Linked DNA regions of Homo sapiens: regions 1, 2, 3 and 5 are each linked to region 4. Evidence: promoter capture Hi-C in 16 types of primary human blood cells and fetal thymus (Javierre and others, 2016). All regions are on one chromosome and are shown on one strand. Each heading gives the region's core, a stretch centred on a gene start or on the middle of the fragment in contact. The rest is flanking DNA. Distances are from core to core; before and after follow the strand shown.

Region 1 (4,832 bases), core at 67-2,566, 500 kb after region 4:
GGATGTAGGAATTATGTCACAATCCCAGGCCCTTTTTCATTATTTAAAAAAAAATCTAATAAAGTATTACATTATAGTACTGATTCTATCTACTGTAAGAATTTAATTAAGAGAATGGAGGATTGGTGTAAAGTGAAGTGTAAATCGTACTTGTTCAAGTATAGGAAATTCCAGATAAGGCAGAACAGTATAAGTAGCAACATTGTAGCTGTTGAGAGAGAGAGAGACAGATAGACATTAATTGGAAAGAGACTGTTTGAAATCATTTACTTAGCAGTATAGTAGGTTCGATAGAATATAAGAATAAGAAGTTATTGCAGAAATATAATATTAGCTAGAACTTGGCCTAAATAGTAAAGTGGTGAGGAAAATTGAGATGAATAATGAACATATATGATGTGGTAATGGTATTAAGGAAAAAGAATGAGGCAGAGTAAAGATGACTCTGAAGATTTTCAGCCCCAGCTTAAGGTACTTGATTAGTAGATTGTAAATTTTTTGAAGATAAAAGATTGAGTTTGGTTTTTAAACTTGAGTTTGGGGTGATGGCAAGCTATGCTAATGGAGATAGCCAGGAGTCAATAGTATCTTATAGATTACATTTCTATGATGTTCTGGTTTCCAAAGCATGTGTAGTGTGTGTGCACACACTAATTCATTGCATCCTCACCTCAGCATTTACATTCCATCAACTCAGAGATGCCACTGATGATCAGATATGTTGTAATTGTGGGGATGTTAAAATGTATGTGTGAGGTGCACTTTAGAATCAAATGAAATATGTATTAATTTTATTTTATAAATAAGAAACGTTAAGACTAAAGTGGTGGCTAGTCCAAAATCTCAAGGGCTGGTAAATAGCAGAGCTAGGATTACAGTCTAGATTTTTAAACTTACTATTAAGCTTATTATTTTGAGGGTTTTTCTCCCCACTATACTGTCATCTTTCAAAAACTTACATCTATTTTTTTGTTATGGTTTTTTTTGTTATGTTGTTTTTCAGTTATCTTTTATTGTCTATATTACTAAGTGGTCCTGCCATCTATTAAGTGCTTCCGTTAAAAACCTGGGAGTCTTCCATGGCACAGTGCTTTCCCTTACCTCCTTGGATTTAATCAGACATTACATCTTGTCAAATTAAGAACTCTGGCTCTGAAGTTAGCCTGCTGGAGCTCCAGTTTAATTCTGCCTCTTATTAATGTGTGACTTTGGAAGTTCCTTAGCTTCTCTAGGCCTCCACTGCTTTAACTGTAAAATGGTATAACAATCATAGCCTATTTCATCTAGGATTGTGAGATTTAATTGATCTTATACAGGTACTGTGCTGAACATGGCATGTAGTAAATTTCAATAATATGAACTATTATTACCAATATTATTAGTAAGTTGAGCTTACTAATTTAGGTCACTGGCTTTGGAGTAAAACATACATAATATGCAAAGGTTCCAAATCTTATTATCTTTGGATCTTGGGTAAGTGTCTTGAATTCCTAAGTCACTTTCCTTATTTGTGAAATGAAGGTAATCTCAATAATGTTTATTGACATTTTCATTGTATCAGATAATATGCCAAGCCTGAAATAGTGTGAGATTTAAATAACTATTAAAAAACTCTTCTTACATATAAAAAGCATATATTAATGTTAGCTATTATTTTTAGTAAGTTGGTTTTGTTAATTTTTATTATTAATATTTTTATACCTGACATTTTAATCTAGTTAAGCTTTTGTTAATGTGAATTTCTCTTTTAAACAGTGTATTGAAAATGTGTCCCGACAGAATTGTCCAATATGTTTGGAGGTAGGCTTAAAATATTTTTTACTTTGGAAGTCTCAGCTCTTGAATTTAAAATACTTGGATGTTTATATTGTCTTCATACAAGCACTAACATTTATTTCATTTACAGGACATTCACACATCCCGTGTTGTTGCTCATGTCTTGCCATGTGGACATCTTTTACATAGGTAAAGTAACATCTTTTTCTCAATGATGTTTGAAAATAGTGGAGACAGTTTTTGTTTTACTAAAATAATCTTATATTTTCTTTCAGAACGTGTTATGAAGAAATGTTGAAAGAGTGAGTGTTTGGGATTTTAAAAATAATTGTAAGATGTTTGACTTTTTTGTGTGTGTGGTGTGGGGAGGTGGACAAACATTGTTACTTATACTATATTGGGCATGGCAATATTTATATTGAAATGGGTAGGGTAGATGAATATTGTTAAAACAGGACAAAGTGTCTTGGATATAGAACTACACTTTTGCCATATGTTTCTCTTAAATCTTGTCTCCTCCCACAATTTGAGGTAGTTACCTCTTTTTTTTCTGGCCATATATACCAGGAAGTGCAGTTTTTGCCAGATGCAGTTATAGTGTTGTAAAAATGCTGAAAAATATTGCCAAAAATTTGTTAGGTTGTTATATTGGCCAAGTATAGTAAACTAAAAGAAAGTAGGTGAAGTGATCATTAAAGCTAAGACTTTATTAATGGAAAAGATATTAAAATTAGATGAAAATAATTGAAAAGAGAAGACTGTATTTTGGTCCTACATATTGATGAGCAAAAATGTGAAGAGCTAGAGAGAGCATTCTTTTTTTCAAATTTTTAGAAAGGAAATAATATCTGAATAATTTTAAACAAATACAGTCTCTTTACATGAGTGTATTAAGAAATTAAGGTTGTTTAGATAAGGAGTAGCTTAATTAGTTTATAAAAATATATGAAGTGTATTCTACAAAGAATATGGACTAATTCCTCTCCATTTTAGAGTACTGAGGAAAAAGACTTAGTTTTAAATAAGTATACAGGAATTAATTTAAAAGTTTTATAGTGTGAAAGTTCCCAGGTTCCTAAGAGATTATCTTGAAATGGAGGAAAATGCCTGTTTTGAATGGTTCATGTGGCAGTTAGCCTGCATCTTCTTGTATACCTGAATTAATATATTCTTGTTTAATATTTGGAAAATAACCTTTCTATCTCTTTCAGAGGCTACAGATGTCCATTATGTATGCACTCTGCTTTAGATATGACCAGGTATTGGAGACAGCTGGATGATGAAGTAGCACAGACTCCTATGCCATCAGAATATCAGAACATGACTGTGGATGTGAGTAGAATCAATACTTAAAACTTTGTAGACTCCTTGTTGGCACTCTTATTTTTGCCCTCCTGCTTGAATTTGCCAAAAAAAAAATATATATATACTGGTTTGACACAGATGCTAATGTGATGATTAATGGAAAGCACAAAATGATTTTTAAATTTTAGTTAAGTAGCTCAGATCGGGAAAAAAAAAGTCTTAAGAATACCTTTATGTAGTTTTTCCCAACACTAGATGGCAGGCAAAAACTTCATTCTGAATTGTTTACATATTACTTGCCAGAGTCAGTCAGTAATATAACTGACTAGGGTTGGATCACTGGTGGGACTTTTTAAGTACATTTTATTTTTAATTATTTTACATTTTATTTCAGGAGAACATATTTGCTGATTTTTGAGATTACGTTTTGGTTTTTAGTGTTTATTACCCTTTTTATTCCATCTTAGACTTATTTTTATGGAGTGCACACAGGAGACCCCTTTTTCACTTCTGTTGTTCACAGAATCATAAGCAAGGAACAAATTGAGAGATAAGAGTCATAATTACAGAGAAGTCTTGATTCATGATCTTGGGAAAAAACTGTCCACACTAAAATGCTGCTTGCTTCTGGGGAGAAACTTTCCTGGTTAACTTTGTCTTAAGGTCTCTCATGGGTGTCCACTTCCAAGAGTGTGGAGGGTCCCTTCTGAAATGTGAGATAATGAACCTAAGTTCAAAGTCCAGAAGCTTTAGTGTAGGTGGAAAAGGCAGTCTTTCTCTGATGTTGTTCTCAGAGACCCAGTCTCCAGATTCTAGATTGTGAAGGGTTTGATTGTTCTTAGTCATTGGACCATCAAAATTTTCTTTACTTGGTGAAAATACACTTTGGCATAATGCATAAAAGCCTTGCGGCATTTAGTCATATCAGAGTTTGGTAGTGGAAGATACATGAGATTCTATTTATTATTAGGTATACAGGCCTTCCAGTGATTATTTCGTAAGGGGTCAACTTACGTTTTCCACTCCAAGGGGATCTGATTACCATCAATCTGCAATATCTTTGACCAAGGCAATCCAGTCAATTCAGTTAGTTTTGCCTAATGCTATTGTATCTGTAGTATCTTATTTAACTATTTTACAACTTATCCAGTGAAATAAGTACCTGTGTCACTGGAGATTTCTCTAGGAATGTCCCATGAGAGAAACACATTTTATAATAACCTTTTAGGTACTGTAATAGAGTTAACCCTCTTGCATGGGATACCTTCTATACAACCAGAAAACATGCATTCAAAATGACAATTGAATGTAATCCTTCTATAAATACTTAAATGGCCCATCAGGTAGCAGAAATGTACGTGAAGTTTTGATTGTCTTCCCAGGATTATGGTTTCGACAAAGCAAACATTGGTCATAAATTATTTTAGCAATTTAGCAATATATATAAATTTTATATATACATGTAAAATTTGGAATATTTTATCTTTTCCATGATGAGCCATGGAATGCAGACTTTTTTTTTTTGTTTGTTTTAGACAGAGTCTTGCTCTTGTTGTGCAGCCTGGAGTGCAGTGGCACAATCTCGGCTCACTGCAACCTCTGCCTCCAGGGTTCAAGCGATTCTCCTGCCTCAGCCTCCCAAGTAGCTGGGATTACAGGTGCCCGCCACCACACCTGGCTAATTTTTGTATTTTTAGTAGAGTCGGTGTTTCGCCATGTTGGCCAGGCTGGTCTTGAACTCCTGACCTCGT
Region 2 (5,566 bases), core at 2,361-4,860, 360 kb after region 4:
TCACCCCAAAAAGGAACCTCATACCTACCAGTAGTCACTTTCCATTCCCATCTAACCACAGCCCCTGGTAACCACTAATGTACTTTCTGTTTCTATGGATTTGCCTAGGCTGGACACTTTATATAACACGTGCCTTTTTGTGTCTGGCTTCTTTCCCTTGGCATAGTGTTTTCAAGATTCATCCATCATGTATCAGCACTTCCTTTTATGGTTGAGTAATATTCCATTAAATTGAATACACCAAATTTTATTCCTCCGCTGATGGACATTTGGGTTTTTTCTGTTTTTTTGGTTATTAATAATGCTGTTGTGAGCATTTGTGTGTAAGTTTTTATGTGAACATGTTTTTATTTCTCTTATAATACCTGGAAGTGGAATTGCTGGGTCATATGGTCCTTAATCTATTTCACATTTATTTCATTGCCATTGCCATCTCTCAAGCTGTCCTCTCTTGACATCTACCTCATGCACTCCCATACTGTTTTCTTTAGATTTTTAGAACATTTTCACTTTCTTCACTGATTAATGTCTTTCTCAGCCTCTTCCACTATAGTCCTACTTGGTAGTTCATGTTAATGAATTTTTCATACTGTGACCTCAAGTTTCTTTGAACTCAATGACATTTTCCACTCAACTTCAGCTACCCAAGGAACAGCCAAATACTCCACCCTTTAGAACTGATCATCCTGTGCCATTTCCAACATCTGGAATACACAAACTGCTTTCTCTGATAACTTTTTCCTCCTATATTGCTCCTTTAAACTTATTATTCATGCCTATGATGACTTCCAGACCCTCAGTGCCTCCGTTTTCAGTTTATTAGCTAACTGCTGTCAAAATTTATCTTCCTATTTAGCAGGAGCCCATGGCAAGCAATTTTAATGGTATTTTCTTCAGCATCTTTGATTCCTTTTTTTTTTCTCAGTGATCCTTGTTCTGAAATTCCTTAACTCCTTTGTTTAATCTTTTTGCATTACCAGTTCTCTAAAAGAGGCAGCTTATATATCATCTATTTTCTCCATTCTTTCCTTTGGGGTTGCCCAATTCTGGGCAACAGTGTCAGTTGGTTCACTGTAAATTCATGGTACCCAGGCTCAAGTGAGCACATTTTTACTATTTTGTGTTCCTTTTATATCAAAATGACTTCTTAACTATTCTAACGTATTTCTGCTCTCAAATCCTTAAGCCTCTATCTCACCATTACCTTTTTATGCAAAAATAAAGTTCTTTTACTGAGATGGCCTGGGCCCACAGTGTATGCCCTACACTTTTCTCAGTTTTTTCCATTTTCTCTAAACCTCTTCAAGCCTAACCCCTTCTCATATATTATTACCTACTCTTCAGTACCTCTCCTTGGTTTTTCATTAATTATTCATTTTCTTGCCCCTTTAAGGTCTCTCCCCACTCTTTTTCCCTATAAATATTTCCCTCTTTAAAAAGAAAAAATAGGCCGGGTGCGGTGGGTCACGCCTGTAATCCCAGCACTTTGGGAGGCTGAGGCGGGCGGATCAACTGAGGTCAGGAGTTCGAGACCAGTCTGACCAACATGGCGAAAACCTGCCTCTACTAAAAAAAGAAAAAAATTAGCCAGGCGTGGTGGTGGGGTCCTGTAATCCCAGCTACCTGGGAGGCTGAGACAGGAGAATCGCTTGAACCCAGGAAGCAGAGGTTGCAGTGAGCCAAGATCGTGCTGCTGCACTCCAGCCTGGGCAACAGAGTGAGACTCCGCCTCAGAAGAAAAGAAAGAAAAAATAGTAACACAATCCTGTTTCTACATAATACCTTCTCTATTAACAATCCTGTAGATGGCCAGAATGTGTAAGTCTTTAATAACCTCTGTCCTCTACAACTGGCTTTCAAACTCAGTTCTTACTGAAATTGTTTTTTTTTGGTTTGTTTGTTTTCTTTTTTTCAGTCTCCCAAGTAGCTGGGAGTACAGGCGTTCACAACCATGCCCAGCTAATTTTTGTATTGTTAGTAGAGACAGGGTTTCACCATGTTGGCCTGGCTGGTATCAAACTCCTGACCTCAGGTGATCTGCCCGCCTTGGCCTCCCAAAGTGCTAGGATTACAGGCATGAGCCACCGCATCTGGCTGAAATTGTTTCCTAAAGCATCACTTGTTCGCCAAATCCAGTATTTTCAGTCTTTATCCTTTGGTTCCCTGTGAGATATAAATAGATTATTGAAGCTTCTAGGCCTCTTGCATGAAGGGGCCTTAAAATGTTATACGGTTGAATATGATTATAAAGTTGCAAAAGTAAAATAGTTTTGCGCTCTTGTTCTTAAGCTTCAGGCCCAACAAAACTGAATCTACCCCCATATAAAAGAAGTTCATCAGATTCTCTTATAGCCTATAGAGGTACCAAATGGGACAGGGCTTCTCGCAACTTGGACACAGCTAAGGACAGAGCTAATTGCTACACTAAGAGTCACATCTTGAATTGACCAAATAATTCTATTCTTTCCATAACTAGGCCTCAGGTCTGGTTCTCAATATTACAGGTTCAGGAACTAGATTTTAAGCAGTCTGACCAAGGTAATTAACCACTGGGAGATTAATGCAAACTAACCAAACTCACAAAAGACTATAAAAAGAATGTCTATTTCTTAATGTACAAGAAGGAATCAATACCTTAACATTAATGATTAATACCTTAATATTGACTAGGGTATATGGTAGACATTTGTCTATCCAGGACACTCTATTCCCTAAATCAAAGTAGTTTCGAGACCAAAATGATCATGAACATTTAGTTATCATGATTGAAAGTGTTATTTTACTGGCCTTATGGCCTCCTCGCTGCCTCAGATTCTTTGAAAATGGGGTAAGCTCTGTTCCTGTGTGATTTAAGCCTGTGCATGATTCTGACCTACCAGTCTTGCTCAGTCGTGGATTGAGCTGCATTTTTGCATTTAAGGCAAGTTTTATCGCAAGCCCTAACTCCACCCCATTTGGCTGCCATACGCGGGTGTTGTGCGTGTCCTCCAGATCCCCAGCCATCCCAGCGCTTTCCCATTCCACTCATGCCCTCTCTTCCCCTTCCTCCATCTCAGTGTTTTCCCTCACTTTCAATGGCCAGACTGGCCTTCCCAAGGTCCCTCCTAACGTCAGGTCTGTCATCACCTACCTTCTTCCACCTTGCCTCGCCTACTAATCATCACCTCCTAAACTGTCACCGTTATCTCCTACCTGGCTCACACTGGCCCCACCGCCCAGAACAGAAAGGAAGCATGGAATCCCGGTCAGGCCGCGCCTACGCGACTCAGGGCGCCCGGCGCCCGCCCCTGCCCCAGCGGCGATGCTATGAGGGAAACCGTATCGCATTTTGCATAGTCTTCGCAGTCCTACATAACCGCCACCTTTACCCTTCGCGTGGGCATCACAATCGCCTCCTCCCGCTGGGGAAGGCAGAAAGGCGCCTCCTGACGAGAACCAAGGCGTGTGGGGACGCAGGGCCTCTGCGTGTCAGGGAGCAGAACCTGGGCCGAGCCCTAGGTGAAGGGGCGGGGTGGTTGGCCCTGAGCCAATCATGGCTCGTGACGACTCGGCTCGGCCAATCAGAAGAAGGGAGGCCTGGCGCTCTCGGGGCGGGTGAGAAACCGCCCCCCCTTGCAGCTCCGCGGCCAACGCCTTCGCCCAGGGGTAGTTGGAGCGGTGCAGGTTCCCAGGCTCCAGGTACTGGGCGCCTTACGAGCTGGGAGGTGGTGCCTCTCACCCAGCTAATTGCTCTCTAGCCCTTGGCCTTCACAGGTGTTGGTGCCTGCCGTGAACGCATTCTGACCTGGGCCGTATCTGTCTCCCAAGACTTTGTGCCTATGGTTGGGGACAGAGTGAGGTCGTTGCCTTGACGACGACAGCATGCGGCCCGTGGTCCTCCTAAGTGTGAGCTTGCGGCGGACCGAGGCCCACCTGCCTCCCTGCCTGCTTCGCCCTGGACTCGTGACTGCGTCCGCAGAAGAAATCACAACAGCGCTGGAATTGCTAGTTTGCTAGGCAGCATCTTTTGGACCTGCGAACCATATGCATTTCACCTCAAATTTGTTTCCAAGTTGAAAACCTTTGGGTCTTTCTATGCGAACGGATTGAAGAAACGGTAAGTATAGTACGTTTTAAAGCTTCTATTATCTCGTTCTTTGATCTATAAAAGATTTCAATCTTTTTTTTTTTTTTTTTTTTTTTTTTTTTTTTTTTTTTTTGAGACGGAGTTTCACTCTTGTTGCCCAGGCTGGAGTGCAATGGCATGGTCTCGGCTCACCGCAACCTCTGCCTCCTGGGTTCAAGCGATTATCCTGCCTCAGCCTCCCAAGTAGCTGGGATTACAGGCATCACCACCACGCCCGGCTAAGTTTGTATTTTTAGTAGAGACAGGGTTTCTCCATGTTGGTTAGGCTGGTCTCGAACTCGCAACCTCAGGTGATCCGCCCGCCTCGGCCTCCCAAAGTGTTGGGATTACAGGCGTGAGCCACCGCTCCCGGCCCTTTAATCTGTCTTAAACAAAATAAAAAATTAGCATTCTCCAAATATTTTTATCAAAATTGTTGCTTTTAGAACCATCCAGAAATAACACCTTGCCCATTGGCCAGGTTTCTTTTTCGTTTGTATTACCTTTCCGTTCAAGAGTAGAAGGCATGAGAAGTTATAGTTTATGAGTAACTGTTTCAGGAAACAGGAGGCTTTGTAGGCTGTGATACTTTTAAAGTATTTGTGGACAGTGTCACTTGAAAAAGCAGGTGTGTTCAATGTGGTGTGTCCAGATATGCAATTGGTTGGGAGAATAAACTTGAAGCAGTCAACTTGCATTAATGTTAGCTTGGGATATGCTTCAGAACACCTCAGACATGCTTAAAGTCATTTTTTTTGGTTCACTTTGTGCTTTCAAATATTGAGGACATCAATTACAAAATGTTTTAAAATAATCCAGGTTATAGATTCAAGCTATTTTTGTCATTGGTATGATAAACCTAAAGCCTAGTGCTTAATAAAACATACTCTCTTAATGGAAGAGAAAAAAATTAAGAAGGGATAGAATTATATGGAGATTTTTTTTTTCAAATACAAACAGTTTATTAAAAAATAGTTAATGGAAGTGGAATAGAAGGTAAAATGTCAAATGCATGGAAAGTTAGTGTCTGGGACACTGCTCTGTAAAAAGTTTGTAGTAGAATCTACTATGAAAACTGGTAGTAAAATAATAATTTAAGTCGATGTTCATTGGTATTGTTTTCATTTCCCACCCCTCAAGATCAATCTTCTGGTTCTCCACATATAGCTACATTAAAAATATATATATTATAAAATCTCAAACTATTATATGTCAAGTGTGGAAAACGTATTGTATACATTGGATTAGCATAGTTTGCTAGAACAAAGAGAATATTTGTTTTGTCTTTGCATCACTGTTCCAATAGAGAAATAGGAAAAACAGTTCACGATCTGAGTAAATTTTAGATTGCCGTAAGTATACAATTAATACAACAGGCAAGAATTATTTCTTGTTAAAATCTATCTGTATTTGGACTGAAATAATTTTTTATCTATTATTACTGAAATAATAGATAGTTAA
Region 3 (5,339 bases), core at 277-2,776, 340 kb after region 4:
GTCCATATGTGGCTCATGTAAACGTTTATTTTTTTGAGACAGAGTCTCGCTCTGTCGCCCAGGCTGGAGTGCAGTGGTAGTGGCAGTGGCGTTATCTTAGCTCACTGCAACCTCCACCTCCCCAGCTCAAGTGATTCTCCTGCCTCAGCCTCCCGAATAGCTGGGATTGTAGGTGCCCGCCACCACGCCTGGCTAATTTTTGTATATTTAGTAGAGACGGGGTTTCACCATGTAGACCAGGCTGGTCTCAAACTCCTGACCCAAGTGATCCACCCGCATTGGCCTCCCAAACGGTGGGGATTACAGGCATGAGCCACTGCGCCCAGCCTCATGTAAACCTTATGCAATTCTCCAGCACCTTGCTGCAGAGTCATGTATCTTATCTGTATTTGCATCAAAGAGGACTCTTAAGACATGCCTGATTAAATCCTAGTCTCTTGCCCAGAAAAATACCTTCATATTTATCTCAAGTAGTTTGCCTTAAATATATTTTCAAAGTTAGTTGTAGGAAATGAAGTTGTATTTCCTATGCCACCCCTTTAATAAAACAAAAATTTTAAATGTTTAGAATTTAAACTTTAAAAGAACGTTCTAATGTCTTTAGGCTATACTTAAAATGGATTCATGATATTTCTACTTGATTTAATAATCCTTCAATTTTAGTTTGTTACTTTTGTGTAGTATTCATTTCCTTGTACTTTGAACATAGATTATTGATAAAAGGAAGTTAATTCCAGGGTATTGGTAGGCATTAACTTAGAAGTAGGTAAGTTAATTTCTTGAATAAAATATTTTGTCTGGAAATTGACTAGTTCACCTACAAAGCTTATGTTTAATTGAAGGGCTTATTATTTGTGGTTATACCTGCTTTTATTGACTTGATTTGATGGTTCTGTACTTACTTCATATTCTGTTTGACCTTCATTTGTGGGTTTGTCATTTGATCATACTTTCTGGTTGCATGGAATTAATTTTAAGGCCCTCTACTGTGTGGCATATTGGCCATGTTATCTGTTCAGAAAAACTAGTTTTAATCATGAAACTGGAGACCTGAAGAATTATAAGTATGCAGCTGACTTAGTTAACATATGTCAATCAGTTACTGAAAGGGACAGTGTTAGCTTTTTGTTCTTGTATTTTTCTTAAACTGGCATCATCAGATATCTACTTAAAGTCAGATTCCTAAATCAATGGCATGAATTATTTGTAAGATGTTGGAAATTATTAATATTTAACTTTATCTGTTTTTAATTTTCATCCTTAAAGAATAAGGAAGAACTTTATTTTGCTACTTGTAGTTACTCGTGTTTTGATAATCTGTTTTGAAAAGAATTTAAATCAGTCAAGACCAGGGCCTCAAGTTCTTTGATAACATTTGGATTGAATGAGTCTAAGGTTTTTCTTAAATTTTGTAATAAAGGTGCATTTAGTGTTTTTATTAATTGCCAGTAATACACTCACTTTATTAAACTTTGACAGAGTACGTTTATTCTCTAATTCTGTTTATATTCATACTGAAGTATGCCTTTAGACCCCCTTAGTTGAAGTTTCTAAATAACTGCCTTTTTCAGCATCACATTTTGCATCAAATTATTATATAGAATTAAACCCCAAATACAGATAGCGGTGGTCTCAGGGCTGTCACTTACGTATCTTTGTCAGACATAGAACATTATCCTGCATGTTTTGGGTCAGAGAACTAAAAATGTAATTTAATTTAAATGAACAAATAGTTACTGAACATCTGTGTCTAATAGCACTGTGCTTGGTTCTTTGGGTGATGTAAAAGTAAGTTAAGATATGGGCCTTGGGCACTGGCGTGCCTGTAGTCTCAGCTGCTTGGGAGGCTGAGGCAGGAGGATCACTTGAGCCTAGGAATTTGAGGTTACAGTGAGCTATGATTGTGCCACTGCACTCCAGCCTGGGCAATAGAGTAAGACTGTGTCTCTCTAAAAAAATAAAAGATACAGACTTTATAGGAGTAAATACATATAAATAACAACAAAACCTGGAGAGAGTTAAAAATATTCATTTTATAACTAGTAGAATTCTAGAATATGGTAAGCAACTTCATCTTGAGGGAAATAGGACATTGACATAGAGGAAAACAGAATTTAGGAAGAGGCAGGCAAACTTGGTTAAACTGTTAGCATAGGAGTTAATATTCCTTTTGGTTACAGTGGCTGAAATCATTTACATTAAATTGTCATTTTTGAAAGAAGCTTTTTTTTTTTTTTTTTTTGAGATGGAGTTTCTCTCTTGTTGCCCAGGCTGGAGTACAATGATCTGCTCACGCAACCTCCGCCTCCCAGGTTCAAGTGATTCTCCTGCCTCAGCCTCCCTAGTAGCTGGGATTACAGGCATGTGCCACCACACCCGGCTGATTTTGTATTTTTAGTAGAGACAGGGTTTCTCCATGTTAGTCAGGCTGGTCTCGAACTCCCGACCTCAGGTGATCTGCCCGCCTCGGCCTCCCAAAGTGCTGGGGTGATAGGCATGAGCTACTGTGCCTGGCTGAAGGAAGCATTTTTGTGTCAGAATTTGTCCTTGTAAATTACAATATCTGTTATATAAATGATTAAAGAGTTTGAGCCGCTGCATGGACTGAGGTCCTCAGAGATGACCACTTTTTTATTTATTTACTTATTTATTTCTGTGAGAAGGAGTTTCACTCTTGTTGCCCAGGCTGGAGTGCAGTGGCGTGATCTTGGCTCACTGCAACCTCCGTCTTCCGGGTTCAAGCGATTCTCCTGCCTCAGCCTCCCAAGTAGCTGGGGTTACAGGTGCCTGCCACCACACCCAGCTAATTTTTTGTATTTTTAGTAGAGACTGGGTTTCGCCATATTGGGCAGGCTGGTCTCAAACTCCTGACCTCAGGTGATCCGCGCAGCTTGGCCTCCCAAAGTGCTGGGATTACATGGAGATGACCATCTTTAAAGATGGGACTGAAATTACTAGCTTTCTGAGTTGAGGACATGTTCTCCATATCCTGTTGGGTGTTTTCAGCATCCTTTGTAGGCTCATATATTTGTCTCTCCTTGGACCATAAATATTTGGGTAGTAGAAGGTCTGAAGAGGTTGGGAATACTGAAAATGCTGTTGTCTTGAGGAAAAGGTAATAGCAGACGCCGATGTAATTTTGTTTTAAAAATAATTATATGTTTAATTCAGCAGTTGGCAGAAACTTTTGGGAGGCATCTTAAACTGTCCTATTACTCCCAGACCCCTAGTTAAGGAAAATCGTTGGGACCAATACTTCAAATGCATATTTTTCTCATAAGGAAGAACAGTAGGGAGCTAAAGGACTTTAACTATTTGAGATGCTACATACAAGTTCCTATAAGTTTCTGTCATTTTTTTAACATGCATTTTAACCTTACAGGTAGCAATTTCAGGTGTTAGAGCAAGCTAATTTTTATACTTTGAACTATAAAAATACTGATTTTAAGGTTATGGGCAGAGATTTAGGCAATACTACTGAGCACTGTTACATTTGAAGGATAGCAAATTAGATTTTCAGAAATTATGTGTTATGTATTCTTGTCTAAGATGAAGATGGCTTTTAATTTTGTTTATGTATTTACATGGAGTGGTTCATCTTGCATTTTTGTGATTTTTTTTTTTGGTAGCAATACCTTTTATGCTATTTCAGTGTTGATATAACTTTAATGAAAAAATGTGACTGTAAAAAGCAACTTATTGTGAGTTACACAGCATTAAGTGGGAAAACAAAAGCTACCTACAGTCCTAGATTGGTACAGAATATCTTGATAAAAATTTATTTTTCTCATACATAGGACACTATGTTAAAAACATTCTAAACTTAAAACTACTGTTATGTCTGCTAGTGACTTGTCGTTAGGTGCTTTGGTTGGTTTTTCTCCAGTGGAGTGTTTTTTATAATGTTTTTTTTTCTTTATATTTTAGCCAAGAGTCGAAGCTAAACCAGAAGTTCAATCTCAGCCACCTCGTGTGCGTGAACAACGACCTAGAGAACGACCTGGTTTTCCTCCTAGAGGACCAAGACCAGGTGAGTCAGCTCCTTTATAGCCTTTAGCATTTAACATTTGTAAGGCTGTAAAAGACTGAACTTAAACAAAAAACTATGATGCGTTCTATACACAGACCCATATAGTCTCAAATTGCTTAAAGATGTGATGTGAGCAACCTGCTAAATAGTGTCTGGGGCCAAATAACCAATTTTTAGGGAGGATTGGTTGACATGCCATGGTGACATATTTTGAAGGTGTAAAAGACTTAAGTCTTATTTGGTTATTGTCACGGTTTTTTGTTTTTTTTTTTTGTTTGTTTGTTTTTTTTTTGAGACGGAGTCTTGCTCTGTCGCCAGGCTGGAGTACAATGGCGTGATCTCAGCTCACTGCAACCTCTGTCTCCCGGGTTCAAATGATTCCCTTGCCTCAGCCTCCCAAGTAGCTGGGATTACAGGCACACGCCACCAGGCCCAGCTAATTTTCTGTATTTTAGTAGAGACAGGGTTTCACCATGTTGGCCAAGATGGTCTCGATCTGCTGACCTCATGATCTGCCCTACTCGTCCTCCCAAAGTGCTGGGATTACAGGCATGAGCCACTGTGCCCGGCCTAGTCACTGGTTTTAAGAGTTCAAAACCAAGCTGCCAATAACCTACTCTCTTAGCAGTCTTATCTCTTTACAGATAAACAATAAGCCCATTTTGATTCTTAGGTATTAAGTAAGTTGCCATGATTTTTGACTTGTTTACCTTGTTAGCTACACATGTAATACTTTTATTTGAACTCTGTAAGAATGTTTAGATTGCTTTGGGGAGGAGATGGGAGAGATGGAGATAGTATATATCACATTTACAATGTGAATTTTTAAAGTGATATGTTACCAAACTAGAAGTCCTAAATTTGTCAGTGATTAAACTTGGGATCTTGAGTGAAACCCTTAAATTCTGAGCTTCTTTTATGTCAAATATTACACAAATTATTCTTGTATTGCCTATTTTCCTCACTGTGTTCCTTGTGTTATTGGGAGAATCAAATAAGATTTTATGTATATCTATATACATACACACTTAATATGTATAGACTGCATAAATGTGATGATTGCTGTTAAAATTTACTGATTGCTGTAATGTCATAAAGCCAAAGAATTTTGAATTTCAAAAAACTAAGCAAATATTTAGTAAGCTATACCTCACTATCTGAAATCTGCTTGGTTCCTGGGTGATGGCAACAGTTTGGTTAAGGAGGAATACCTGTAGTACTAATATTTGATTTTTGTATAATCCAGTAGATCTAGAAGAAGCTATTTTAGCAACCTAGTCATTGTCCTCACTTTACATTTTAGTGTCAT
Region 4 (5,381 bases), core at 2,436-4,935:
TGGGGGTTAGGGTTTCAACATATGAATTTGGCGGGACACAATCATGCAGTTCATAACAGCCTTCTATGCCACTGAAGAACTTCAGCTTTTACTCTGAGTGAGAAGGGAAGTTGGAAGAATAACCTGATCCATTTAAGGCTCTCTCTGACCACTACATGGAAATACAGTGTAAGAGGGTAAGGGAAAATGCAGAGAGACCAGTTAAAGGTCAGTTACCAAGTATGTTTCCAGGAGAAGGGAGAGACCAACTGTGTCCAATGCTGCAGGTTAAGTTAAATAATGAAAATTGATGTGATTGGTGATCTTGATAAAAAACAGTTTCAGTGGAATGGTAGAAGCAAAAGATTGATCGGCAGTTTCTTAAAAGTTACACGTAAACCTATCATATTGATCCAGTTATTCTATTCCTAGACATTTACCAAGATATTTATGTCCACATAGAGACTTGATGGCACGACATGGTGGCTCAAGCCTGTAATCCCAACACTTTGAGAGGCCAAGGCGGGAGGATCACTTGAGGCCAGGAATTCAAGACCAGCCTGGACAACATAGTGAGACCCTGTCTTTTATATATATATATATATTTTTTTTTTTTTTTTTTTTTTTTTTTGAGACGGAGTCTTGCTCTGTCACCAAGGTTGGAGTGCAGTGGTGCGATCTTGGCTCACTGCAACCTCCACCTCCTGGGTTCAACCGACTCCCCTGCCTCAGCCTCCTGAGTAGCTGGGACTACAGGTGCGCGCCACCACGCCCGGCTAATTTTTTGTATTTTTTAGCAGAGACGGAGTTTCACCATGTTGGCCAGGATGATCTCGATCTCCTGACCTCGTGACCCGCCGCCTCGGCCTCCCAAAGTGCTGGGATTACAGGCGTGAGCCACTGAGCCCAGCCAAAAATATATTTTTTTAAATTAGCTGGGCATGGTGGCACACCACCTGTAGTCCCAGCTACTAGGGAGGCTGAGTTTAGGAGTTCAAGGCTGCAGTGAGCTATGATCATGCCACTGCACTCCACCCTTGGTGACAGAGCAACACCCTATCTCTTAAAAAGAGACTTGAACATGAATGTTCACAGCCAAAACTGGAAACAACCCAAATATCCAGCAACTAGTGAATGGATAAACAAATTGCAATATGTCTATATGATGGAATACTACTCAGGAATAAAAGGAGTGAACTATTGATACATACAACACCATGGATACATTTCAAAATAATTATGCTAAGTGAAAGAACCTTGACCTCAAATAATAGGTACTGTATGATTCCATTTGTATACAATTCCAGCAAACACAGACATATCTTTGGTGACAGAAAGCAGATGTGTGTTTGTCTGGGGATGATGAGGCACAAGGAACGTTTGGGGATGATGGATATAGTCATTATTTTGATTGTGATGATGGTTTTATGGGTACATACATATGTCAAAACTTATCAAATTGTTCACTGGGTAGTTTGTTGTACATCAATTATATCTTAATAAAGCTATAAAATAAATACATTATAATTTTAAAAATAAAGGATGGAATTTCACATGAAAGCAGAGATGTTGGCCTTAGATACCCAAATTATTTAACATCTGAAAAATATATATTCAGTTAGCCACTCTTAGTCTTAGAGTTCTCATTTATCAAAAACAAATCCTGCCTTCCATGCTGCTGGAGGTAAAATGAACTGACCTATATGCCCTCCTTAGAATAGCAATTAAAGCCTTTCATATCAGGACAATATAACCTTCTCAGCTCTTTCCCTGCTGCACCCTGCCCTCCCAGCCTTTAGTCACACCAAACTTATGGCTATTGTTTCAATACACCAGACATTTTCAAGTACCTGTACGCAGTCTTTTTTCTTTTTTTTTTTTTTTTGAGACAGGGTCTCACTGTATTGCCCAGGCTGGTGTGCAGTGCTTCACTGCAACCTTAACCTCCTGGGCTCAAGCAACCCTTTTGCTTCAGCCTCCTCAGTAGCTTGGACCACAAGCCTGTGCCACCATGCCTGGCTGATTTTTCAACTTTTTGGTAGAGATGGGGTCTCACTATATTGCCCAGGCTAGTCTTGAACTACCCAGCTCAAGTGGTTCTCCCACCTTGGCTTCCCAAAGTTCTGGGATTACAGGCTTGAGCTACCACACTTAGCCAGATTTTGTTTTGAGAATACTTTTTTTGCCCTCACTAAAACAACCTAGCCAAAAAATTTTAATTTAAATCTATGCTTTTTAAAAAAGATTTATTGCTGACATTTATTTCTTAACTTCACAGGTAACTGATTTGATAATTAATAAATAAGTCATTCTCCAAAAGCAGCTGAATAACATGGTTTGTGAAGCATTCTTTATTTTGTGTGCAGGTGTGATTACAGAGTTGTTTTGTTTGGGGCTCATTTTATCATCGTCACAGATGAGGTTGGCGTTCTATAAAATTGCTTTGGTTAAGCAGAACCCTATTGTCTGGCTATTTTGCCAGACCAGCAACCAGCTACCAGCTGTTAGGCTATGTTTTTTCTCATGTAGTTACAATCAAGACTGTCTAGATTGAAATCTCATCTTCCTCACAGGCTATGAATTGAGGCAGTCAACTTCCCTGAGCTTGTTTCCTCTTCTGTAAAATGTAGATAACAATAGCACCTATTTTAGAGGGTTGTTCTGAGGATTAAATAAGTTAATACAAGTGCTTGGAATAGTGCCTGGCACAGGGTGGGTAATTAGGTTTTTTTTTCTCTCTCTCTAATTCACAACACCCTACCTCATTCATTCAACCCTTATTGATTTTTTACACCTTGAGATTGTAGAAATGTATTCTCCTCTTCGAATTACCAGGATCTGAATTAAAAACTCTGACTGAGGAGTGCTTACAAAGCTTATAACGATGGTTGAATTTTAACGATTAATTGCATTTATTAATGGTCAACATGATCACATTTTATCCAGCCCTCTTTTCCCTTGTATGGGTCACGCTAAGTTGAAACAACCAAAACCAAAATAAAAACATATCTAAAATCATACACATTAACTTATATGACCCTCGTTGCTCTTTTTTCCTCCTAAGAGGGAATAGTGTTATCTAGCGCCACGGTTCTTTTCAGTTTTGTTTTGTTTTGTTTTGTTTTTTATACGGAGTTTCGCTCTTGTTGCCCAGGCTGGAGTGAAATGGTGCAATCTCGGCTTACCGCAATCTCCGCCTCCTGTGTTCAAGCGATTCTCCTGCCTCAGCCTCCCTAGTAGCTGGGATTACAGGCATGCGCCACCACGCTCGACTAATTTTGTAATTTTAGTAGAGACGGGGTTTCTCCATGTGGATCAGGCCGGTCTCGAACTCCCGACCTCAGGCCCGCCTTGGCCTCCCAAAGTGCTGGGATTACAGGCGTCAGTTTCTAATTTTAGACTGCGGGATTAAAAATAAACGATTAATCCTCATTTATGTGCTTCATATGGGTGTCGGAATGACGATACATGCTAACACACGTGAAAAAATTTACATTTCAGATCCTTTCAGAAACGCAAGGCAATATTAAGTAGTAGCATATGCCCAAGGGCGAGGGGCGGGTCGGCGGTGGCTGGCTCTCCAATACACCACAGAGTATTTTGGCAACGAGAGTAATTTTGACACTCTGAGGCTTCCGTAGCATAGCTCGCTTTAGGAACCGCTAAGGTGTCGCCTGCCTAGAGTCCCATGCGCTATTTCCGGTCATACCCGGAAACACGAGTCCAAGCTGCAGCTGGCAGGGATTGCGGGGTGCCGGCCGTCTGAGTTTTTTTAAAACTGCTCGCCGCGAAGTCTGTCTGCAGCCAAAATGTCCAACAGAAACAACAACAAGCTTCCCAGCAACCTGCCGCAGTTACAGAATCTAATCAAGCGAGACCCGCCGGCCTACATCGAGGAGGTGGGAGTGCGGCGCGGCAGACGCTAGAGGCCGGATAGTGGATGGTTGAGACGCCGGTGCGGGAAAGCATGGAGTGGGGCTGGGATCCAGGCTCGCCGCCTATTCTTCTGTTAGGTTCAGGGGTCCCTCCAGAGGAGAGAAGGGGTTGGGGACGGGACATGCCTTAGGGTTCGTTCCCCACCTCTTGAAAATCTGTTGCCCCTTTGGATTTTCTACCTGCCCTGCTGCCGCTGAAACACCTTTAAAACCTCATTTTGTTTTAAGATATTTTTCTTCGTCCGCACGGAAGTGGAGAGAGAAATGGGCCGCACCCAACCACCAACTTCCACGCGGATTTCTCAGCCTCTTTTCAGAAATCCCAAACTTGAATTAGTCGGTAACCTTTGATGAATCGTATGTTAGAATGCTTTCGATTGACGTCCGTTTCTGAGAGCAGGCTGTGTACCCTGGACTGTGCCAGGAAAGGGGGGGGGGGGGTTTCTCAAGCACAACGGACAGACTCGGGAGCTTAGTATATTTAGTTAAGCCAGGATTCAAACTTACCGGAGACTGGCATGACTCGGATGTCAGAATTTGCTTCGGGAAAAGATTAGGTTGAAAAATTAGGCCCTCATTGTGATGGGCTTTGTGTACTGACCTCATGTAAGTTGTGAACATTAGGGGTGTTTGAACCAAGTACCGACAAAACGAAAGTGGTTTTTGATATATTAATCTGACAGGTGCTTCCTTCAGACACTCATTTATCAGACGGGCATTAAACAGGTATCTCTGCTAGGCATTTGCTGCAATTACATGTTTGTGCTTCTACCAGATTGTGATTTGTTCAGTGGCTAACACAATTACTTATTTTTTCATTGCCCTTCTCACTTCCCTCCTCCCCTAAATTTTCACATATATGTATTTTATGAGTGCTTTTTAACACATGGCAATCTCAGTGGCTTAGGTCACCAGTAGAGAAAGCCTCTCCAAGGATCAAGGTAGTGGAAATAAAGAGTAGGAAACAAGTACAAGAAGTTAAGTAACATAGGCAAGGCTTTGAGATGCTTAAAGCATTGTATAGCCATTCGCAAAGAAAGTGGTAAGTTGAGAGTCTATATAATTCCGTTAGATAACTCCTGCTGCTGACTGTTGTTAACCAGTTGTGTAACCGAAGCAGGTTAATCGCTGAGCCTATGTGGGTATTTTAATATGTAAGAAGGGGGTAATAACTACTTCTTTAATTCACTTAAGTATATATGCAAAATCACATATAACTACTGTGTGTTGTTATTCTAGGTAGGCGTTGGGGTACAGTAATGAATAAGACAGATAAGAAAGCATTCTTCTCTTGGACTTACATTCAAGTGAGTGTAGACTTATTATGGTAGAGATTATGAAGAAAATAAAACTGGATGGGAATAGGTTAGAATTGGAGGCTTCTGATTTAGACCCCGTAAACAGGGAAGGTGGCTCTGCAATGATGATATTGAGCCAGGCAGGTAAACATCATTTTAGGTACAAGGA
Region 5 (5,148 bases), core at 148-2,647, 480 kb after region 4:
AAAATGTTGATAAAGCAGTAAAATCGTTAATTTTAACCAAATCTCAACCCTTGAATATATCTTTTAATATGCTGTTCAATGACATGGGAAGTTTTGATCAAACACTTCTGCAAACTGAAATTAGAGGGTTGTCTTGAGGAAAAGCTCTTGTGCAAATTGGATTGTAAAGTGAACTAGTTGCTTTTTTTCATGGAACAGCATTTTTTACTTGAAAAAATTGTAGTCATTCACATTTGGGTAGTTGGCAGACATTTTCTCAAAAAGGAGAAAAGTGAGACTCACTACAAATGAAAATGACAGTATTTGTTGCCAGTGATAAAATTCAAGCTTTCACACAAAAATTAGAATTTTGGAAAACTTTTACTAGCTTTTGTGAGGTTGGAAGCTTTTTAAAAGACTTTTTTTGGTGAGATTTTCTTCAATACCTAAAGACTTTTAATGAATATGATTTTTTGATATTGCATGTTAAATGTGTGAACATTTAGAAGATGTAAATAACTCACTGAACTGGTATTCTCCAGATGACCAATGCATGAGTAAAACATCCATTTGAAGTGCAAGATAGAGCAATAGATTTTAATGTAACCAAGGAAGAAAAGAGGCATCATATCAATCATATTCCTTGATACGATTTCAGATTTCATGTTGCAACTACCCTTTAAGAGTTGTTGTTCTAGTGTAATATCAGAGAATGATATCCATAATTCTCCAAAAAGGCTATTAAAATACTCCTTTCTTTTCCAGTGTACATATTTGTGTGAGGCCAGAGTTTCTTTTTGTACTTCAGCCACAACTGTTTGAATGCATAAGCAGATAGAAGAATTCAGCTGTTTGGGGGGAAAAATATAGTTATTTTTCATTAAAACATGTTATTTATGTTAACAAGTAATGAGTTTGTTACTTTTAAAAAGAAGTAATATTTTAAAAACCTATTCTTTTTAATTTATGATGTGGTATATGTCAATAGATAAAATCCACATAAACCAAAGCTCTTTGGGATTCTCAGTAATTTTAAAAAGTGTGAAGGGATCCTGAGACCAAACCATTTGAGAACTACTGTTCTGCGGTATAACTATGAGAATAGTGGGTTGGAGGACAAGGTTATTGGAAATGACAAAGTTAAGGAACTGAGAGTTGCAGAAAAAGGAAGCCAGTTAAGTGTTAAAATCTTTAAGGAATGAACTACGTTATGGTAAGTCAAGGCATAGGAAGCCTTCAGAAATGAGTGGATCTGCAAGGTCACAGTGTATTGGAAAGTCACTGGCCTGGAAATCTCTTGATATACTTGTAATGGTAAAGTTGCTGTAATGAAAAAACCCAACAGTGATGTAGATTAAAGAGTAAAGGTTTTATTTCTTTCCATTTAACAATTCCAAGGCGAGTGATGCAGGTTGGTGATGAGGCTTTGCTCCACATGGTCACTCCAGGGATGAGATTTTTCTGTTGTATCATTTTGTCATGTTTTAGGGCATGTGGCCATCTGTCTGATATAGCTGAACAATTGTGCCCAGGAAGGAGAGGATAGATTTTGGTGGACAACTGGCAGTCTTTGCCGTGTTTGAAAACAAGGGCTGTCTCTTACATTTGTTGCATTTTGTGCAATATTAGATATGAGGTTGATGATTAATAAAAGCTAGTAAAATAAGAATATAATCTTTATTATTTTTAATGTAAATGAATTTATCTGGAAATGTCTAAGAAGAGGTTGCCTGTTTGCTGTTTAGGCTCAGAATGAAATTGGGGTGTTATATTAGTCTGTTTTCACACTGCTGATAAAGACATACCCAAGACTGGGAAGAAAAAGAGGTTTAATTGGACTTACAGTTCCACATGGCTAGGGAGGCCTGAGAATCATGGCGGGAGACAAAAGGCACTTCTTACATGGTGGTGGCAATAGAAAATGAGGAAGAAGCAAAAGTGGAAACTCCTGATAAACCCATCAGATCTCATGAGATTTTATTCATTATCACGAGAATGGCACGGGAGAGTCTGGCCCCCATGATTCAGTTACCTCCTTCTAAGTCCCTCCCACAACACGTGGGAATTCTGGGAGATACATTTCAAGTTGAGATTTGGGTGGGAACACAGCCAAAGCATATCAGGTGTTGTGGGATTAGTGTTTCAATCTAGGGATTTCCTTCATAATTCTTTTGTTTTAAAGTTGTGTTCAACTTCATACAGACGTAGTGATGTTGAAGGGAAGAATTAACATAAAATATGCCAAGAAACTAGTGAAATGTTATGTTTAGGATCAGTTTAGCAACTGATCTATTGGTTGTAATCTTTCAGTTCCATCCAGGAGGAGGAGGAAGAAATTTTCTTTTTGTATTGCACACTTAGTTTCTTTTGCTTCTTACTATATCTCTTTTTTCTCCGTGGGTGTTAGGCACCTTGCTGTGACAAGCTTTATACTTGCCGCTTGTGTCATGATAACAATGAAGATCATCAACTAGATCGCTTTAAAGTGAAGGAAGTGCAGTGCATAAACTGTGAAAAAATTCAACATGTAAGATTTTATGACATTTCTATTTTCTTTTTAAAAGCTGTATTAAGGTGGTTTGAAAAAATTTAATCAAAAGTATCATAAATAAGATTTCTTTAACTTCTAGAATAAGCAATATCTTTGGTTTAGGTGTTTCAAAACTTATAAAAATAAACTGCATATAGTTGAACATAAGTTCTAGATATTCAAATGGTAACTCAAAATGTTTAGTTTATTGCAGTTTTTAATTATGTTTCTTTTTTAGGCCCAACAGACTTGTGAAGAATGTAGCACATTGTTTGGAGAATATTATTGCGATATATGCCATTTGTTTGACAAAGATAAGAAGCAGTATCACTGTGAAAACTGTGGAATTTGTAGGTACTGTATGTAAAGTGTTCTTATCTAATTGCTTCTAATGTATATGCAATAATAGTTTTTAAAATCAACTTTATTAAGGTGTAATTTACATCTGATAAGATACATTCATTTTAAGTGTCCAATTAAGTGAGTTTTGATAAATACCGGTATCTCTTTTACTATCAGCACAATCAAGCTATAGAACATATCCATTCTAAAAAGTTTATTCATAATTTGTTAATAATTTAATTTACCCATCAATTATTGTATAACTATTTAGAATTTTACCTTTGGATTATAAAATATGTTTTATATAAAGTGTTTTATGGGCAACTGAGGTAGAGAATTGGGATAAATTTTTCCTTTGTAAAAATTAGTATTTAAAAAATTATCAAGAAATACAGGTGATTTTATAAAAATTGGAAAAAACAGAAAAGTAGAAATAATAAAAATAAAATAACCAGAGCCTAACCACAGACAAGCTACTGTTGACATGTCGGTGTATAAGGAATTATTTTCTTTCTTAAAAATCTCGAGTATTTTAGATGTATATTAAAGCATGTATGTAAAGTGTGTCTAAAGTACAGTACAGTGAATAAGCCACCGAGTTTAGGAAAGGAATGTTACCAATACTGTCAAAGCCCAAGGTGTTCCGTGTTCAGTCCTTTCTTCTTGTCCCTGCTGGAGGTAATCACTGTCTTGAATATTTTAAATCACTTTCTTGCTTTTTTTTTGTTTTTTTTGTTTTTTTAAAATATAGTTTGTTTTTAAGGAAGGATAACCAACCTACCAAAAGATAACAGAAATTATAAGCAAATGATTTTATGAATTTTAACAAATGAACATGCCTTTGTAACCACTACCCAGATCAAGAAACACAACATTCATAGCACCTTCATAGCTTCCTGTGTGCCCCCTCCAAATTAATACACTTCCCCAAAGGTAACCAGTATGCTGACTTTTGGAAGTTTTTAATGAATGGAATCATATAGTATATGCTCTTTTGTGTTTTGTTTTGTATGTTTTAAGGCCATGTCTTTCAGCGGTCACATACTTAAAATTATTACATTTTCCTGTATGATTGACCCATTTATTATTATATAATGTGTCTTTTTATCTTTAGTAATGTTTCCTGCCCTAGGCTCTACTGTATCTATATCAGCTTTCTTTCGATGAGTTTTTGCATGTATATCCTTTTCCATTTAGACATTTTTGTATACTTACATTTAAGTCATGTGTCTTGTAAAACAGCATATAGTTGAATTTTAATTTTTCAATCCAGTTTGATAAAACTGTCTTTTAATTGGAGTATATAGTTCGTTTTTTATTAAGGTAGTTAGGATATGTTCGTGTTTCAATCTACAGTTTTGGTAGTTTCTATTGCCTTAGTATTTGTCTTTTTTCCTCTCCTTTCTTGTCTTCTTTGGATTAATCTGTTGCTTTCCTATTTGCTTTTATTCTCTATAGGCTTGTTAGTTATACATTTTTCAATTATTTTCTTAGTGGTTATCCTAGAAATTATAACATACATCATTGGCTTACTAGAATAATATGTTTATCACTTCTTGGACAATATTAGGACCTTAAACACTAAGAGTCTTTATATGCTATTGTTGTTATATATTTACCGTTTCTATTGCCCTTCTTTCCTGTAGGTCTCCAGCATTATCTTTGGAGTTACTTTTCTTCTGCTTAAAGAATTGTCTTTAGTGTTTCTTTTAGTGAGGTCCTGCTGATGATACATTCTCTCAGTTTTTTTTGTCTCTGAAAAATGTCTTTTTTTTGCCTCCATTTTTGAATATTTTTGCTGGGTGTAGAATTCTAAGTTTACAGGTATTGGTTCCCCTGACCTCCCAACACTTTAAAGATATTCTGATTCCATGGTTTCTGTTTAAAAATATCATTTCTCAGGATTATTATTGCTTCTTTGAAGTTAAAATGTCTTTTATCCTCCTCTCGCTGTTTTTTAAGTCATTGGTTGTTAGTATTTTTTCCGTGTGTCCAGGTTTGATTGAGTGTAATATTTATCTGGCTTGGGGTTTGTAGCATTTGTTGAATCTGTGGCTTGATGTCTTCTGTCAATTTTGAAATATTTTTGGCCAGTTTCTCTTCAGATAATGTTTCTGTACCGTTTTCCCACCTCTTCTGAGACTCCATCCCATAGATCTTTTTACTACATCCCATGTCTCTTTTTTTTTTTCCTGTATTTCTCCTACTTTGATTTTCTTTATGCTTAAATTGGATACTTTCCACAGATTAACTTCCAGGTCTCTCTTCTGCTGCATTGAATCTGCTTTTAAGCCTAC

The links. The method cuts DNA at HindIII sites, captures the fragments that hold promoters and counts their contacts. A CHiCAGO score of 5 or more calls a contact.
Region 1: a fragment that was not itself captured here is called in contact with the fragment with the promoter of SDAD1 in region 4 in 1 of 17 cell types (total CD8 T cells); the score reaches 8.9 in total CD8 T cells.
Region 2: a contact is called between the fragment with the promoter of CDKL2 here and the fragment with the promoter of SDAD1 in region 4, in 5 of 17 cell types (naive CD4 T cells, fetal thymus, non-activated CD4 T cells and 2 more). The highest score is 7.1, in naive CD4 T cells.
Region 3: a contact is called between a fragment that was not itself captured here and the fragment with the promoter of SDAD1 in region 4, in 1 of 17 cell types (activated CD4 T cells). The highest score is 5.1, in activated CD4 T cells.
Region 5: a fragment that was not itself captured here is called in contact with the fragment with the promoter of SDAD1 in region 4 in 7 of 17 cell types (total CD4 T cells, activated CD4 T cells, fetal thymus and 4 more); the score reaches 8.4 in total CD4 T cells.

What each region holds. Positions count from the first base shown.
Region 1 is chr4:75,488,857-75,493,688 of GRCh38, reverse strand. RCHY1 (ring finger and CHY zinc finger domain containing 1) reads left to right here. Exons shown (of 9, transcript NM_015436.4): 5 at 1,756-1,800; 6 at 1,907-1,965; 7 at 2,052-2,078; 8 at 2,988-3,108. Among named protein-coding and RNA genes, the nearest start is that of RCHY1, 23 kb to the left of the region's middle. The HindIII fragment of the contact is 819 bases long and covers 907-1,725 here.
Region 2 is chr4:75,628,572-75,634,137 of GRCh38, reverse strand. CDKL2 (cyclin dependent kinase like 2) reads left to right here and starts at 3,610. Exons shown (of 14, transcript NM_001330724.2): 1 at 3,610-4,096. The HindIII fragment of the contact is 1,829 bases long and covers 2,292-4,120 here.
Region 3 is chr4:75,647,330-75,652,668 of GRCh38, reverse strand. It overlaps G3BP2 (G3BP stress granule assembly factor 2), which reads left to right. Exons shown (of 12, transcript NM_203505.3): 9 at 3,928-4,030. Among named protein-coding and RNA genes, the nearest start is that of CDKL2, 19 kb to the right of the region's middle. The HindIII fragment of the contact is 1,397 bases long and covers 828-2,224 here.
Region 4 is chr4:75,989,249-75,994,629 of GRCh38, reverse strand. It overlaps SDAD1 (SDA1 domain containing 1), which reads left to right and starts at 3,685. Exons shown (of 22, transcript NM_018115.4): 1 at 3,685-3,878. The coding sequence starts at 3,789. The region is part of intron 1 of SDAD1-AS1 (SDAD1 antisense RNA 1); the gene reads right to left. The HindIII fragment of the contact is 958 bases long and covers 2,857-3,814 here.
Region 5 is chr4:75,506,535-75,511,682 of GRCh38, reverse strand. RCHY1 (ring finger and CHY zinc finger domain containing 1) reads left to right here. Exons shown (of 9, transcript NM_015436.4): 2 at 2,387-2,506; 3 at 2,748-2,863. Among named protein-coding and RNA genes, the nearest start is that of RCHY1, 5.3 kb to the left of the region's middle. The HindIII fragment of the contact is 2,019 bases long and covers 388-2,406 here.